2 separate regions of the Homo sapiens genome follow, and region 1 is linked to region 2. The links are contacts of gene promoters, found by promoter capture Hi-C in human tissues and cell types (Jung and others, 2019). All regions are on one chromosome and are shown on one strand. Each heading gives the region's core, a stretch centred on a gene start or on the middle of the fragment in contact. The rest is flanking DNA. Distances are from core to core; before and after follow the strand shown.

The links. The method cuts DNA at HindIII sites, captures the fragments that hold promoters and counts their contacts. A contact is called where the count stands out against the background at its distance.
Region 1: a contact is called between the fragment with the promoter of ZNF181 here and a fragment that was not itself captured in region 2, in 2 of the 25 tissues and cell types used here (mesendoderm cells and thymus).

Annotation. Positions count from the first base shown.
Region 1 is chr19:34,732,671-34,735,538 of GRCh38, forward strand. It overlaps ZNF181 (zinc finger protein 181), which reads left to right and starts at 1,573. Exons shown (of 4, transcript NM_001029997.4): 1 at 1,573-2,376. The coding sequence starts at 2,368. RefSeq lists enhancers at 421-480, 698-1,215, 936-1,325 and silencers at 1,606-1,655, 1,756-1,815. The HindIII fragment of the contact is 5,149 bases long and covers 1-2,868 here.
Region 2 is chr19:34,842,221-34,845,152 of GRCh38, forward strand. All of the region lies in intron 3 of LINC02965 (long intergenic non-protein coding RNA 2965), which reads left to right. Among named protein-coding and RNA genes, the nearest start is that of LINC02965, 5.0 kb to the left of the region's middle. The HindIII fragment of the contact is 8,258 bases long and covers 1-2,932 here.

The DNA.
Region 1 (2,868 bases), core at 323-2,822, 110 kb before region 2:
TGTAACCTGCAGTGTGGTGGGTGGGATGGGTGTGTGTGACACAGGCAGGAACTACTCCTGATGGCAGCTGACGACCCACATGTGTACTGGGTGGGTGCCAATGGGAGTAGCAGGTGAGTGGCTGAGCACAGGCAGGTGAATGAGTGACAGCTACACAAACCCCACCACTGAGCACGTCCCTCCCAGGGCAAAGCAGATCAGATCACAGGCCCAGCCCTGGGAGGCCCAGAGGAGCCTCAGGTCCTCAGGAAGGCTCCTGGCCCTCTTCGCCCTAGGAGGACCCCCCCCCCGCCCCAAGCCGGCTCCACCTGTAGCTGTGGGCGTGGGAGGGAGACAGAGCGCTCTGGCGGCCAGAGAAGGAAGGAAGATGGAGGGAGGGCGGACTTCTGCTCCCTGACGCTGCTGCTAGGCCCCCTGCGGCCCTCCTGGAGCCCACACCTTTCAGCTGCAGTCTCCCAGCCTTCGTCCCCAGGACGAAGCCCACTAAGCCAGTGCTTTTCCACTGCAGCTGGCTGTTCCGCTTGGGGAGGGTTCCCAGATTGTGCAAAGTGAGGAAGGGTCCCCTGTCCCTGCCCCGCAGGGCCCCCACTCCAGGCCTCCCCCATCTCTCCCTGTCTCTCTCAGAGGTAGAGGCAGCATTAAATTAAAATTTAATTAAAATATTAAAAATAAAGTAAAAAATTCAAATATACAACAGTAGACTGTCTGGCTTGCATACAAAGAAGGCCATTGCCCCTTTGGGTGAGCCGGGCAAGGTCAGGGTCTAAGAAGCGCCTCTGGTGAGAAGCGGTTGTCAGGCTCTGATGGCTGCGGGAGGAGTGACTCCTCCCAGGATGAGGGTCTGTGTCCTCTCAGTGCTCACTCAAGTTCCGTATTTCCAAGTCCTTCCAGGGGGCGTAACGCACGTGAGAACTGCCATTTCTGTCACAGATACGTGGCCGCATGCATTTCCAGGAAATGTCCTTGGTTCGCGAACTACAGCTGGCACAATCCAGCCCAGGGCGTTCTGTGAGCTGTAGTCTCCAGCAAGTGAATTCCAAAAAAACCTCAAAGACCTCAAAGACCATACAGGGTGGACAGCGTAGTAGCAGGGTTTGGGAAGAGAGGAGCTCTTTTGCTAGCAAAGGCGAGAGCTCGCCTGGTACAAGGTCTGCCCACGTCCCGGGAGATAAACATTAGTGTGAGCGCACGCTAGACCCAGAAGAGTTTGCCACGGCCGCACGGTTTTCTGGGAAGTGTAGTTTCTTGGTCCCGGCGCCATTGTCCTTAAAAGTAGAGGGTGGCCCTTGGTTCCGAGGTGTATCTTTCACCTCATCAGTATGACTATATGCCCCAGGACACTTCCCGCATGGTCCTAACTGCCGGGCTCTGGGACGACAGCCCCAGGCGGTTTAGTTTTTTAGGAAACCGAGATCTGTTTGCCCGCGGCGCCCCAGGTCCGCGCGGCCGCAGAGACTCCTGGGAAGTGTGGTCTTCCGGTACCTGCGGTTCGTTGCGCCTGGAATTTTGTCCCCTGCGCGGATGATTCTGGGAAATGTCGATCGGCTGTGGGCGGCGCACTGGGTCCGCCCCGCTGTAGCCTCAGGCCTGACGGCGACTCCCAGGCTCCGGGACGATTCTGGGCAGTGTCGTCCCCAGAGGTCGGCGGCCGTTGCCCGCTCACCAGCGACGCGGGGCGCCTGCGGGGACGGTGAGGCCCTGCTGAGGACTCCGGCCAGTATGAGTCCCGGGGGCGGCGGCGGGGCTCAGGCCCTGGGTCTGCCCCGCGGTGTGACCCCGGCCGGTGCCTTGGTTTTCCTGGCCTTCATGTCCTCCTATGTAAACGCGGGGTGATGACGGCGCCGACCTCTTGGCGCTGTTGTGAGAGTGAAGTGGGCGCGTGGTTAGACGCCAGCCACAGTTGTCTTTGGGTTATGTCGTCATGAAGCCGGCGCTCTACAGTTGTGTAACCTTGAACAAATGGGTTCAGTATCTTGGAATTTCAGTTTTGTCATCGTTTAAAAAATAGATCTGGAAAAATGTGAACGCACACCGTGCATAGTGGTGAAGACTGAACGAGCTGATAAAGTTTTTACCATTGTTTTATGAGGATTTTATTTACAGAGTAATTGATTTTCCTCGCAGGTGGCACCTGGTAAATGGTTAGCCCTTGCGGAGAAACACCCTGTTAGTTCCCAGGGAGAGATTGGCGCCCTGGAGAGTGATTACCAGTGTGCCTTTCCATTATGGTGTGTCACAGGTGCCGCAAGATAAGCCTGATTTTTCATGACTGCTTTTTCCTGCCCTTCTGTGCCCTCAGGACACTGCCCATCTCTAAGATAAGAGCCTGGAAAGAGGACTCTGTTGGCTGTTGGAAATTGCAGAGTAATGCCTCAGGTAGGTCGGTGTGTCCGCAAATCTTCCTGAAACACTTTATCAGGACTGTGTGTTTGCTTTGCTTCTCCTGCCTGTTCCCACCTAACCAAGTCCATTTAAGGGACTGGATCCATGGTTCCTTTCAGTATAGGAAGGACGGAGCCCACAGGAGAGCTCCAAGGTATTATCCTCCTCACCCAGTGTTCCTCTTTTCTACAGTTTTCTGCTAGAAGACTTTCTAGTCTTGCCAACATTTTAAAACTGTAATTCACAATGCAACTTTGGAATGTAAGGTTATTCGGTTTATGGTTGTCAAAACTGTACCATGTGGTCTCAAGTGAAGAGATGCTTGCAGTCATCCTTGATTCTTCCCTTTGACTTATACCTATATTCAGATCCTCTAGTTGGAGCTAAGCTATACACTGTATACAGAATCTGACCATTAGTTACCCCAGCACTACCACCACCACTACCACCCCGGTAGTGATAGCAATAAAGCCACCTGGATTATTG
Region 2 (2,932 bases), core at 1-2,500:
AAAAGGTTGGGGACTGCTGCCCTAGACCAGCTTTCTGGATTCTGGCTGAAACGGACAACTTACCAATATTAATTCTTCACTCCACCAGCTGATACACACACACACACACACACACACACACACACACACACACACATTTGTACGTGTATTAGTATACGGCAGTTTACAGAAAAATAATTGTTTTATATATATTGATCTTGTATACTAGCACCTTGCAAAATTCATACCTTACTTTTTATAATTTTTTATAGATGGATTATAGGATTTTCTGCATACACAATCAGGATTTCTGTGCATTGAGTAGTTTACCCTTTCCTTTTAAATCTGTATGATTTTAATTTTTCTTATCCTCCACATTTGCTGCAACCTCCAATACAACATTGAATCCAAGAGAAGTCAATGGACTTCATTTTCTACTTCCTGATCTTGGGGGGAAAATATTCAGTATGCTGTTAACTGAAGTTTTTTTTCGTTCAATGCATGCATTATCACATAAAAGAAATAAGGAAATTCCGTCCACTTCCTACTTTACTGAAAGATTTTTTTTGAAAGGAATATTAGCTTTTTTCGATTAGTTTGTTCACAACTATTGAGATGAATTGTATCGGCTGATTCTTTTCTAATAGCTTTTTTGAGAGACAATTCATGTAAAATACAATCCATGTATTTGAAGTATAGAATTCAATGGCTATTAGTCTATTCACAGAAATGTGCAACCATCAACACAATTTTGTAAAGTATTCATCACCCCAAAAAGAATCTTTGTACACCTTAGCCATCACCTTCTAATACCCCCACACCTCCCAGTTCTAGGCAAGCATTAATCGACTTTCTCTCTTTGAGTTTACCTACTCTGGACATTTCCTGTATGAAACCATAGACTATGTGGTTCTTTCTGGCTGGATTCATTCATGTATTATAATAGTTTTATATGGCATATACATAACACAAAATTTACCATTTTAACAATTTCTAAATGTACAATTCACTGGCATTTAGTACATTTATATTGTTGTATAACCATCGCCACTATTCATCTCCAGAACTTTTTCATCATCCTAAATTGAAACTCTGTACCTATTAAACAATAACTCCCCAGCACACATTCCCCACAGCTCTGGTAACCACTATTCTGTCTCTATGAATTTGCCTATTCCAGGTATATCATATAAGTAGAATGACACCTTTGTCCTTCTATGTCCAGGTTGTTTTACCTGGCATAGTTTTTTTTCAGGTTTTATCCATATTGTAGCATGTATTAGAATTTCCTTCCTTTTGAGGCTGAATAATATGCCATTGTATGTTTTGTTTCCCCATTCCTACATTGCTGGATACCTGGGTTGCTTCCAGCTTTTGGCTATTGTGGATGATTCCACTATGAACATGGGGTACTACTGGGAAATAGAGTAGAATGAACCTGACATTTATTCAACAACACAGACACATCTCAAAACCATTATGCTTATCAAATACCCACACCCAAAACTGCATACTCTGATTCTGTGTATAACAAATTTTAGAAATAGCAAGATTAATATGAAATGTCAGAAAGCGGATAAATGGTTGTTTGTGGTTAGATATGCGGAGGAACTAACAACAAAGGAGCATAAGGGGATTTTTTAGGATGATGGAAATGATCTGTACCTGAATTGTGGTGGGGCCTTGAGTGTACACATTTGTTAAAACTTAGCGAACATAAAACAGGTGCATTTTTCATGTAAATTTTACCTCCAAAAGGTTTATCCGAAAAAAAACATTTGATGCAAAGGCAGTCACAACGTCATGCTAACGTCGTTGATTGTTTTATAGGCAACTGCTATTGCAGTTGACGATATGAAATTGACGATAATTAGGGCAGAGATAGACTATGTGGTTCTTTGTGGCTGGGCTCACTTACGTAGCGTAATGGTTTTATATTGTGTATAAACAACATAAAATTTACCATTTTAACAATTTTTAAATGCACAATTCACTGGCAATAAGTACATTTATATTGATGTACAATTATTGCCACTCTCCATCTCCAAAACTTTTGTTCATAACTGCTATGGTAGTTTGTAATATATTTTAGACAATTCATTTAGAAAAGATTAATGCTAAGGAAGGGGTATGGTGGATAATAGGAAGGCAAGCAGTGGGGGTGCTGGGCAGGGGGTAAGGCAGGAAGAAAGACAAAGCAGCAAGTAAGCTTAGATGCAGAGAAGGCTTGCTGACATGCGGACCTTGTCCGAGCATCTGTTGCAACATACCCTGATGAGAAGTTCATGTGCAATGAAACTCCAACTCCTGGGACCTATGTGTGGAACACTGGGACCCTGACCCCGTCAGATCAGTCAGATCCCCTTTCTCCAGAGCAGATTGGTCAGCACAGGGAGACAACAGCTCAGATCTTCGCCCTGTGAGATCACTTATGGGAGGGGCTGCCCCGACCCCCCACATCTGACTCCCCCATGCTATAGTTTGGTTTGTTTGACCCCTCCAAATCTCATGTTGCAATGTGATCCCCAGCGTTAGAGGTGGAGCCTGATGGTAAGTGTTTGGGTCATGGGGTTGGAGCCCCCATGATGTCTTGGAGCTTTCCTCACAGTGATGAGTGAGTTCTCACTCTATTAAGCCCTGCAAGAGCTGATTGTTAAAAACAGCCTGGCACCTTCCTCCCCTCCTCTCTCGCTTCTTCTCTTGCCTAGTGATCTTTGCACATGCCAGCTCCTCTTTGCCAGCCTAAGGCCCTCACCAGAAGCAGATCCTGGCATCATCCTTCTTATACAGCCTGCAGGACTGTGAGCCAAAGAAACCTCTTTTCTTTATAAATTACCCAGCCTCAGGTATTCTTTTTATAGCAACACAAAAATGAATGAAGGCATCCCTCTCTTCAATGCTGCAGGAATTGTTTTCATTACAGGTTTGGGCTGCTCTATAATTTCATATAAAT